Linked DNA regions of Homo sapiens: regions 2 and 3 are each linked to region 1. Evidence: promoter capture Hi-C in human tissues and cell types (Jung and others, 2019). All regions are on one chromosome and are shown on one strand. The core of a region is centred on a gene start or on the middle of the fragment in contact, and the rest is flanking DNA. Distances in the headings are between cores, read along the strand shown.

What was found. The method cuts DNA at HindIII sites, captures the fragments that hold promoters and counts their contacts. A contact is called where the count stands out against the background at its distance.
Region 2: a fragment that was not itself captured here is called in contact with the fragment with the promoter of ZNF708 in region 1 in 1 of the 25 tissues and cell types used here (H1 embryonic stem cells).
Region 3: a fragment that was not itself captured here is called in contact with the fragment with the promoter of ZNF708 in region 1 in 1 of the 25 tissues and cell types used here (H1 embryonic stem cells).

Annotation. Positions count from the first base shown.
Region 1 is chr19:21,327,110-21,330,922 of GRCh38, reverse strand. ZNF708 (zinc finger protein 708) reads left to right here and starts at 1,513. Exons shown (of 4, transcript NM_021269.3): 1 at 1,513-1,713. The coding sequence starts at 1,711. RefSeq lists a silencer at 1,200-1,421 and enhancers at 668-1,656, 1,541-1,720, 1,761-1,960, 3,049-3,570. The HindIII fragment of the contact is 12,621 bases long and covers 1-3,813 here.
Region 2 is chr19:20,989,528-20,993,220 of GRCh38, reverse strand. No RefSeq gene overlaps it. Among named protein-coding and RNA genes, the nearest start is that of ZNF430, 29 kb to the left of the region's middle. The HindIII fragment of the contact is 4,218 bases long and covers 1-3,693 here.
Region 3 is chr19:21,697,164-21,701,217 of GRCh38, reverse strand. No RefSeq gene overlaps it. Among named protein-coding and RNA genes, the nearest start is that of ZNF100, 68 kb to the left of the region's middle. RefSeq lists an enhancer at 1,891-2,391. The HindIII fragment of the contact is 4,382 bases long and covers 1-3,507 here.

The sequences.
Region 1 (3,813 bases), core at 264-2,763:
ACCCTCCTGATGTCAGAGCTGCACTTCAATGTAGCAGCTATTGGCCCTGTGTTGCTACTGGCTGCCTGGAATGCGCCTGGTCTGAACTGCGATGTGCTAGAAAGGTAAAATACGAGTTAGTTTCAAAGGTTTAGTTCCATATATATAGACACACTTCATTAATAATTACATATTTCTCACATATTAAAATGACAATATTTTCGATATATTGGGTTAAATTGTTACAATCAATTTCACCTGTTCTTTGTTTCTTTTTAAAAATAGAGCTAAACTCTTTTTAAAGTTTGGCTACAAATTAGCCGGGCATGGTGGCCAGCGCCTTTTATCTCAGCTACTTGGGAGGCTGAGGCAGGAGAATCGCTTGAACCCGGGAGGCAGAGGTTGCAGTGAGCAGAAATCGCGCCATTGCACTCCAGCCCAGGCAACAATGTGAGACTCCGTCTAAAAAAATAAAAATATAAAATAAAGTTTGGCTACTAGAAAATTTAAAATTTACATGTGGCTCACATTTTATGATTTTATTTTATTTATTTATTTTTTTTGAGACAGAGTTTCACTCTTGTTGTCCATACTGGAGTGCAGTGGCGTGATCTCGTCTCACTGCAACCTCCACCGCCCAGGATCAAGCGATTCTCCTGCCCCAGCCTCCCAAGTAGCTGGGATTACAGGCGCCTGCCACCATGCCCAGCTAATTTTTTTGTATTGTTTTAGAGACGGGGTTTCACCATGTTGGCCAGACTGATCTCGAACTCTGAACCTCAGATGATCCACCCTCTTCGGCCTCCCGAAGTACTGGGATTACAGGCGTGAGGTACAGCGCCCAACTTGTGGCTCACATTTTATTTCAGAGAATTGCCTCCTTTTTAAAATCTCAGGCTGCCTGCTCAAAGGACCAGAAGTCAGGAAGGTCACAAAATATAAAATTTTAGAACAGTTGGGCCGGGCGCAGTGGCTCATGCCTGTAATCCCAGCATTTTGGGAGGCCGAGGCGGGAGGATCACCTGAGGTCTGGAGTTTGAGACCAGCCTGACCAACATGGAGAAACCCCGTCTCTACTAAAAATACAAAAAAATTAGCCGGGCATGGTGGCGCATGCCTGTAATCTCAGCTACGCGGGAGGCTGAGGCAGGAGAATCGCTTGAACCCGCGAGGTGGAGGTTGCGATGAGCCAAGATCGCGCCATTGCACTCCAGCCTGGGCAACAAGAGTGAAACTCAATCTCAAAAAAAAAATTTTTTTTAGAACAATTGGGTTATTATATTCTTTTCATTTGTGAATAGCCATATAGCATATTATTTATAAGGGCATATGACCTTATACACAAGATTAAAGGCAAACACCCTCTCGGGTGGGCCTGGCTCAGCTCAGGGAGGAAGCCTTGCCTGAAAAGGCTGCAGCATAGGCTGTCACACTTCATTCAGCCCAGCATCTGATCACATCTTCCGTCCCTCAGGGCCTGAAGGGGCGGGTTTTAACATTATCCAATCAGGGACTCTGAGCTGGGGACAGTTCACTCAGACACGCAGCTGGACCGGACAGGGCGGCTTCCGGGTTTGGCGCGGCCTTTGTCTCTTGCTGCAGCCGGAGCTCCGGTCTCGTCTTCACTGCTGTTTGTCCTCTGCTCCTAGAGGCCCAGACTCTGTGGCTCTGTGACCTGCAGGTATTGGGAGATCCACAGCTAAGACTCCAGGACCCTCTGGAAGCCTAGAAATGGTGAGAGTGCCGTCCGACATCCCGAGAGAGGGGAAGGGCTGGTTGAAACCTGTGGGAAGTGGCTGTGGCGGGACTCAGGACTCCCCGCAGTCATCTCCACAATCTGCGCTCCGAGTTCTCCTTGCCTAGCTCGGCCTCAGTCCCCTTCAGCCATAAGATGGCGGCTGCGCCGACAGCCGGGCCCCCGGGCGTCCTGTCTCTTCCCTGCGCAGTGACTGTGCCCTGGCCTGCAGCCCTCTCTGGGCGGCTCTGCACCGGCAGCGCCGCGCCTCTCCCAGATTGTGCAGGGACCATGGGAGGGTGGTCAGGGGAGAATCCTGACTTGGGGTCGGGTTCATGAATGGGAAGAGCTTTGGTCTGTGGGGTTCCCGGTTCCTATTTTCTCCTATTAAAAATCTGTGGCAGTCATCGCAAAAAATATTAAAGAATTTAATCAAAGAGTGATTCAATAATTGTAGAGCACAAAAGTATGTTTTGTAGTTTGTGGTTCATGGGAGGAGCTTGAAGGAAAGACTTTTTATAAGGTGCATGATGAAGAAAACTATATTTAATAATCGGTTAGGTACATTTACGTAGCTGTTGCTGTTAAGTAGAAAGCCGGGGACTAGAGCCTCCTCAGTGTAATTGCCTGCCACTTAATTATTCTCACACTCCACAGGGGACTGATTTTCCCCTGCATTTTTCACATGCGTTCCAAGCGGGGTCTCAAGTGTACCTCCCAGCCCCATTCCTCCAGCCTAACTCTGGCCTGCAGTTAGATTTAAACTGCAAATAAACTAAAATACTAAATTTCTAGTTCCTTCTGACATTTCCAAATGCCAGCTTGCCTTTCCTAATTCACATTCTCAACTGTTTTTCCTTTAGTGTACATTTTTGATACTGTATTTTAGTTAATCATTTTTTGACAAAGCATTGGATGGCACTTAAAATTGTTTTCTGGTTGAAAATATTTCTCATGAGAAGAAAGCAAAAAATAATTCCCTGACACTGTATTTTATGAAATTTCTATGGCTTTTTTTTTTTTATCTTCCTCAGGCACAGAAATCTTATCAGAATGTTTGTTTTCAGGTGAAGGTTTTTCTTTGGAAACTTTACGGAGTGATGTGTCTTCAGCCACCCTTCAGTTTTTTCCTGGTCCTGGGTTTCAGTACTGTCTGGAGTAAACCAAGATACACATCATGACTTTTTCTGCTAGAGTGTCTAGTGAATATCAGCTCCTGGGTCATTTTTCTCCCTGAGGACAACCTGAGGTATGGAGTGTAGCTTCTCAAGGGAGCAGGTGGATGCCCTGGGGCTGAGAGGCATCTCCTGGCATACTCTTCCTTTGAAAAGCTAACCCCTTGAGACATTAAGATTGTCTTCACCCAACCCAGCTTCCATTTCTTGGAGACACAGTGCTGGTCAGCCAATCAGATGCTGGTATTGAGGGGAAAACACAGAAATAATTTCTGCCCCCTGAATTCTCTAAATTTTGTGGAAAAAAAAAAGTATCCCAAAAGACAAAGAAAAACCTGACCCAAGTGAGATGGTGCAAGAACTTACAAAGTAAAATGCACCTGGGGCATAGTGTAATGTCTCCTGAGAGGGTGGTTATTGAGCACTTAAGGTGAGCAGAATGGGGTGGGTGAATATCAGTCAGACACATCTGTTTTCTTTCTTTTCTTTTTTTTTTTTTTTGAGGTGGAGTTTCACTCTTGTTGCCCAGGCTGGAGTGCAATGGCACGATCTCGGGTCACCGCAACCTCCGCCTCCCAGGTTCAAGCGATTCTCCTGCCTCAGCCACCCGAGTAGCTGGGATTACAGGCATGTGCCACCACACCCAGCTAATGTTTTTGTATTTTTAGTAGAGATGGGGTTTCTCCATGTTGGTCAGGCTGGTCTCAAACTCCAGACCTCAGGTGATCCGCCCGCCTCGGCCTCCCAAAGTGCTGGGAATACAGGCGTGAGCCACCGCGCCCGGTCTAGACACATCTGTTTTCTAATTAGCACTACCACTCCCTGGGTTTGTCACCTTGAAAAGATTTGTTCACTTATGTTGACTTCCATTATTTAACTGTAAATTGCATTTTATTAATAGGACTTGGAAGGTAAGAAAATATT
Region 2 (3,693 bases), core at 562-3,061, 340 kb after region 1:
CATCTTGAGGATTGTCTTGGCTATACGGGCTCTTTTTTGGTTCTATACAAAATTTAAAGTAGTTTTTTCTAACTCTGCAAAGAAAGTCACTGGTAGCTTGATGGGAATAGCATTGAATCTGTAAATTACTTTGGTCAATATGGCCATTTTCATGATATTGATTCTTCCTATCCATGAGTATGTAATGTTTTTCCATTTGTTTGTGTCCTCTCATTTCCTTGAGCAGTGGTCTGTAGTTCTCCTTGAAGAGGTCCTTCAAATGCCTTGTAAGTTGTTTTCCTAGATATTTTATTCTCTTTGTAGCAATTGTGAATGAGATTTCAGTCATGATTTGGCTCTCCGCTTGTCTATTGTTGTTGTTTAGGAATGCTTGTGTGTTTTTTTTGTTTCTTTTTGTTTTTGAGACGGAGTCTTGCTCTGTCACCCAGGCTGGAGTCCAGCGGTGCAACCTTGGCTCACTGCAACCTCCGCCTCCTGGGTTCAAGCGATTCTCCTGCCTCAGCCTCATGAGTAGCTGGGATTACAGGCACACACCATCATGCCTGGCTAATTTTTGTATTTTTAGTAGAGACGGCATTTCACCATGTTGGCCAGGATGGTCTCGATCTCTTGACCCCATGATCTGCCCACCTCAGCCTCCCAAAGTGCTGGGATTACAGGCACGAGCCACCATGCCAGGCCTATGCTTGTGATTTTTGCACATTGATTTTGTATCCTGAGACTTTACTAAAGTTGCTTATCAGCTTAAGGAGTTTTTGGGCTGAGATGATGGGGTTTTCTAAATATACAATCATGTCATTTGCAAACAGAGACAATTTGACTTCCTGTCTTCCTATTTGAATACACATTATTCCTTTCTCTTGCCTGATTGCCCTGGCCAGAACTTACAATATGATGTTGAGTAGGAGTGGTGAGAGAGGGCATCCTTGTCTTGTGCCGGTTTTCAAAGGGAAAGCTTCCAGCTATTGTTCATTCAGTATGATATTGGCTATGGGTTTGTCATCAATAGCTCTTATTATTTTGAGGTGTGTTCCATCCATACCTAGTTTTTTAAGAGTTTTTAGCATGAAGGGATGTTGAAGTTTATCAAAGGCCCTTTCTCCATCTATTGAGATAATCATGTGGTTTTTGTCATTGGTTCTGTTTATGTGATGGATTATGTTGGTTGATTTGTGTATGTTGAACCAGCCTTGCATCTCAGGGATGAAGCCCACCTGATCATGGTGGATAAGCTTTTTGATGTGCTGCTGGATTTGGTTTGCCAGTATTTTATTGAGGATTTTCGCATTGATGTTCATCAGGGATATTGGCCTGAAATTTTTTTTTTTATTGTGTCTCTGCCAGGTTTTGGTATCAGGATGATGCTAGCCTCATAAAATGAGTTAGGGAGGAGTCCCTCTTTTGCTATTGTTTGAAATCATTTCAGAAGGAATGGTACTAGCTCCTCTTTGTACCTCTGGTAGAATTCAGCTGTGAATCCATCTGGGCCTGGGCATTTTTTGGTTGGTAGCCTGTTAATTACTGCCTCAGTTTCAGAACTTGCTATTGGTTTATTCAGGGATTCATCTTCTTCCTGGTTTAGTCTTGGGAGGGTGTATGTGTCCAGGAATTTATTCATTTCTTCTAAATTTTCAAGTTTATTTGCATAGAGATGTTTATAGTATTCTCTTATAGTAGTTTGTATTTCTGTGGGATCAGTGGTAATAGCCCCTTTATCATTTTTTATTGTGCCTATTTGATTCTTGTCTCTTTTCTTCTATACTAGTCTAGCTAGTAGTCTATCTATTTTGTTAATCTTTTCAAAAAACCAGTTCCTAGATTAATTGATTATTTGAAGGTTTTTTGTGTCTCTATCTCCTTCAGTTCTGCTCTGGTATTAGTTATTTCTTGTATTCTGTTCGCTTTTGAATTTGTTTGCTCTTGCTTCTCTAGTTCTTTTAATTGTGATTTTAGGGTGTTGATTTTAGATCTTTCCAGCTTTCTGTTGTGGGTATTTAGTGCTATAAATTTACCTCTTAACACTGCTTTAGCTGTGTTAGATTCTGGTCCCAGAGATTCTGATACACTGTGTCTTTGTTCTCATTGGTTTCAAAGAACTTATTTACTTCTGCCTTCATTTCGTTATTTACCCAGTAGTCATTCAGGAGCAGGTTGTTCAATTTCCATGTAGTTGTGAGGTTTTGAATGCGTTTCTTAATCCTGAGTTCTAATTTGATTGTCCTGTGGTCTGAGAGACTGTTTGGTATGATTTTCATTCTTTTGCATTTGCTGAGGAACGTTTTACTTCCAATTATGTGGTCAATTTTAGAATACGTGCTGTGTGGCACTGAGAAGAATTTATATTCTGTTGATTTGGTGTGGAGAGTACTGTAGATGTCCATTAGGTCTGCTTGGTCCAGAGCTGAGTTCAAGTCCTGAATATCCTTATTAATTTTCTGTCTCCTTGATCTGTCTAATATTAACAGAGGGGTGTTAAAGTCTCCCACTATTATTGTGTGGGAGTCTAAGTCTCTTTGTAGATCTCTAAGAACTTGTTTTATGAATCTGGGCACTCGTGTATTGGGTGCTTATATGTTTAGGATAGTTAATTCTTCTTGTTGCATTGATCCCTTTACCATTATGTAATGCCCTTCTTTTTATTTTTTGATCTTTTTTGGTTTAAAGTCTATTTTATCAGAGACTAGGATTGCAACCCCAGCTTTTTTTTTTCTTTTCATTTGTTTGGTAAATATTCCTGCATACCTTTATTTTGAGCCTATATGTGTCTTTGCATGTGAGATAGGTCTCCTGAATACAGCACACTGATAGGTCTTGACTCTTTATCCAGTTAGCCAGTCTATGTCTTTAAATTGGGGCATTTAGCCCATTTAAATTTAAGGTTAATATTGTTATGTGTGAATTTGATCCTGTCATCATGATGCTAGCTGGTTATTTTTCATGTTAGTTGATGCAGTTTCTTCATAGTGTCATTGGTCTTTATATTTTGGTGTGTTTTTACAGTGGCTGGTACCAGTTTTTCCTTTCCATATTTAGTGCTTCCTTCAGGAGCTCTTGTAAGGCAGGCATGGTGGTGATGAAATCCCTCAGCATTTGCTTGTCTGTAAAGGATTTTCTTTCTCATTCGCTTATGAAGCTTACTTTGGCTGGATATGAAATTCTGGGTTGAAAATTCTTTTCTTCAAGAATGTTGAATATTGGCCCGTACTCTCTTCTGGCTTGTAGGATTTTCACAGAGAAATCTGCTGTTAGTCTGATGGGCTTACCTTTGTATTTAACCTGACCTTTCTGTCTGGCTGCCCTTAACATTTTGTCCTTCATTTCAACCTTGGAGAATCTGACGATTATGTGTCTTGGGGTTGCTCTTCTTGAGGAGTATCTTAGCAATGTTCTCTGTATTTCCTCAATTTGAATGTTGGTCTGTCTTGCTAGGTTGGGGAAGTTCTCCTGGGTAATATCCTGAAATGTGTTTTCCAACTTGGTTCCATTCTCCCTGCCACTTTCAGATACACCAACCAATCACAGGTTTGGTCTTTTCATGTAGTGCTATATTTCCTGGAGGGTTTGTTCATTCCTTTTCATTCTTTTTTCTCTAAGCTTGTCTTCATGCCTTAGTTCAGTAAGTTGATCTTCAATCTTTGATATCCTTTCTTCTGTTTGATTGATTCAGCTATTGACACTTGTGTATGCTTCATG
Region 3 (4,054 bases), core at 67-2,566, 370 kb before region 1:
TCTGGGTATTTGAAAACACCAAATTATTGATGAAAAATACCCATTTTGAACAAATTCTTGATCATATATTATACATCATACATATATGATAATGTATGATTGCATATATGATATGTATGTATGATGTATGATATATATGATCAATAATTTGTTCAAAATGGACATTTTCATCAATAATTTGGTGTTTTCAAATACCCAGAATATATATATATTTTTTAAATACCCAGAATATATATATATATTACTACTAAGTAAAACCTAATACTAATAGCTTTGATTTATAAAATATTTGTGAATTTCTATCCTGTAGTGAAAAATCAAGAAATTATTTAAATCTGCTATCTAAATTTTGATTATAATATTTGGTATTTTAATTAAGTGCATGTATTCATATACTATGGCAAACCACCTATTTCTTTACTATCCTGCCATTTTATAAAATAAACCTGAATTTGTGGAGATATTTGTAAAAAAAAAATTATTTCTAAAAAAAGTTTTGATTTAGACATCAAAATAGATATTAATGTCACATTATAAACATAGTTTGCTGAACCCTACAGTAATCTGTAGTTTGTGTACAACAGTCTTAGATTACCTAAAACAAAAAGTCTCTTTCTTATGTTTAACATGCAAAAGTCCAAAATATATCCAGACAGATGGAAACTGTGACTGCCATCTTAAGATACAAATGTTTCAGCACGATAACACTGTTCTGTGTATGTACAGATGGAAAAACCAAACTTTGAAGTTTTCAAATCATAAACAGGAGTGTAATTTGTGATTCTAAACCTTAAATATAGGAAACAAACACATACAGTTTACTCTTCTTAATTTAAAATATACTGTTCTTTGAACAATTCAAGTAATGTTAGACTATCAAAAATTTCATAAGCCATACAAGTGTCAACTGCATTTTCAAAATTATAAGAACTTAAGAGTAAACTAAACTGATACAGTTCAGTTTAAAAAGTAAACTACTTTTTATTTGCCTTTGTGATAAGAATCACCTGTATTTATTTTGGAACAAACAAGAAATTATATGGTGGTAACTTGCTGGGTGCTGACTGTGATGGTATTTACTTTCCTAGGGATAGGAAGATCCAGTGGACCAGAATCATAAGCACCTTGCCATGTTCATTGCTGTTCTTTTTTTCTGTGACTAAGATTCATTTCCCAGACTCTGAAATGGCTGCATTGTCTGGGGTAAATACCTGGGGTTTGTTGTCTCACACGAGGAAAATTTAGAACACGAACACACACGAGGATTGATTTTGGGGTGGAAAGTTTAATAGACAACACGCCTGTAATCCCAGCACTTTGGGAGGCCGAGGCAGGTGGATCACGAGGTCAGGAGATCGAGACTATCCTGGCTAACACGGTGAAACCCCGTCTCTACTAAAAATACAAAAAATTAGCCGGGCGTGGTGACGGGCGTCTGTAGTCCCAGCTACTCGGGAGGCTGAGGCAGGAGAATGGCGTGAACCCGGGAGGCAGAGCTGGCAGTGGGCCGAGATGGCGCCACTGCACTCCAGCCTGGGCGACAGAGTGAGACTCCGTCTCAAAAAAAAAAAAAAAAAAAAAAAAAGAAAGTTTAATAGGCAAAAATAACAGAGAGAGAGAAAGCTCCTCATGCTGAGAAACAGGGTCACCTAAAAAATTTCCTGGTTGCGGGTAGAACACAATTGATTTTGTAGAGAAGCTTGAGGAGTCAGTGATTGATTTACATAGGGCACAGGAGATTGGTTGACCAGGTGTGCCATTTACATAACCCATGCAAAGGCTGGCCCTCCCACCCTAGTCTTTTATTATGCAAATGTAGCTTCTACCTGTCACCATGATACCTGCTCACGTGGCTTTACCTGGCTGGTGCCATGACACCCACACAAGTGGTGTCAAAGAAAAAAGAGGAGGAATTCACCTCTGTTGAAATGTACTTGCCTTTTAATACAGCCGCCTGCATTTACAAATGAAAGTCTCCAGCCTGCTTATCAGCTTGCAGCTTGACTTTTCAGGCTGTTTTCTGTTAGAAAAGAATTGGCTTTGGGGCTGCTTTTTATTAAAGAAAAATTCTAGTGAGAGAACTCTTTTACCCTCTCTAAATGCCTAAAATAATTTCTTAATAACTCCTATATTATTCTCCCCTCAGGAGACGTATTCCTAACTGCTGTTAGGGGGTGTCAGATGACGAATCTTTCAAGATACTTCCTGCTGAAAAGGGCCATCATGTTGGGGAACAGCAGTTAGGGCTCCTCCTGAGGTTGATCTAAGAGTTCTTGAAAAAAAATGGTGTGTCCAGGCCAGGTGCAGTGGCTTATGCCTGTAATCCCAGCACTTTGGGAGGCCGAGGCAGGTGAATCACCTGAGGTCAGGAATTCAAGACCAGCCTGGCCAACATGGTGAAACCGCATCTCTAATAAAAACACAAAAATTATCCAGACTTGGTGTTGCGTGCCTGTAATCCCATCTACTAGGGAGGCTGAGGCAGGAGAATTGCTTCAACCTGGGAGGCGGAGGTTGCAGTGAGCCGATATCTCACCACTGCACTCCAGCTTGGGTGACAGAGCGAGACTTCGTCTTAAATCAAACAAACAAACAATAAAAAAAAAGAATGGTGTGTCCTCGTGTGGCTCTGTTTGCAGCACCTAGGCAAAAAAGAGATAATTTTTACCAGAAGGTTTTGAAGACAGGATTAGAATATTCATATTAAGATGACCGCTGCTAGTGGGGTAATACAACCTTATGGTATAATAGCAGAGTTCTACACCTGTTAGTTGTCCCAATGGATTGTAATACTGGTTTGCCTCCACTAGATGTTGCTGTACATTACCAGAAACGTTAATATAAAAGTAACATTTTCTTTGAGAAAAACATACATTTTCCCCTTGACTTGCCATTAGGGAATACTTTTAGGTTTAGGCCATTTTTATAACTTTCAATATGATTGGGAGAAATACATCATCCGGTGGCTAAAGTAACTTTAGTGTTAATCTTGGCAATGCCTTTCCTTTAATTATTCAACTCTTTATTTCCACAGACCATCTTATAACAAACTTTCTGACTTGTCCTAAACATCCATTCTTTAAACAACCAGTCATCTCCTTTTAGAACAAGAATTTAACATACAAGATTCTTCCTTATATAAAATCTTTCTTTATAACTGTCTTTCTGTAGCTTACAGTGCACCATATTACCAATTTTTTTTTTTTTTGAGACAAAGTCTTGCTCTTGTCCCCCAGGCTGAAGTACAATGGCATGATCTCTTGATACCCTACCTTGTTTTAACCTGATTATCTCTCTTAGCTGAGAGAGCCGGACAGACTCCATTTTATTTCCTTCACTTACAGCCCCTTTACCTCCCTCCCTTAAGGGCATAACTAGTGCAAGCTGACTCCAAGCACGTCCAGGAATGCACTTACTGATAAGATATTGAGGCAAGCTGAACCAGCAGCTCCTGGGGACGCACCTAAAACCCCTGCATTTACCTCTTTGTGATAGTTTAAACCCCTGCACCTGGAACTGTTTATTTTTCTGTAACTGCTTCTGTAACCAATTAATTTTTTTAACTTTCTGCCTGTTCTACTTCTGTAAAAATTGCTTTAGCTAAACTCCGCCTCCCCTATTTAGACCACGATATAAAAAAAATCTAGCCCCTTCTTCGGGGCCGAGAGAATTTTGAGCACTAGCTGTCTCTCGGTCACCGGCAATAAAAGGACTCCTGAAATTAGTCTCAGAGTGTGGCGTTTCTCTACAACTCGCTCGGTTACAACATTTGGAAGCCCCAGCAAGATAATTGCCACCTGGTGAGTGCCGGACTCGCTCCAGGCTCTCCTGGCTGGACAGCGGGCTTATAGGGGAGGCACCTCCTGAAGCTGTTCCAGAGACCCGTAGGCCACTGTCTTCCGGAGGGGAACGGATCGACTGCCGGTGTGTGCCCTCCAAAATCAACTCCTGAGTCCTGCATTTCTGGTCCTGGGAAGGTAAGTCAGATCTGACTCTGTTTCTCTGGGAGGGAAGCGGCCCTGACGAGGGCGTCCTTCTGACTCTGCCCATATTC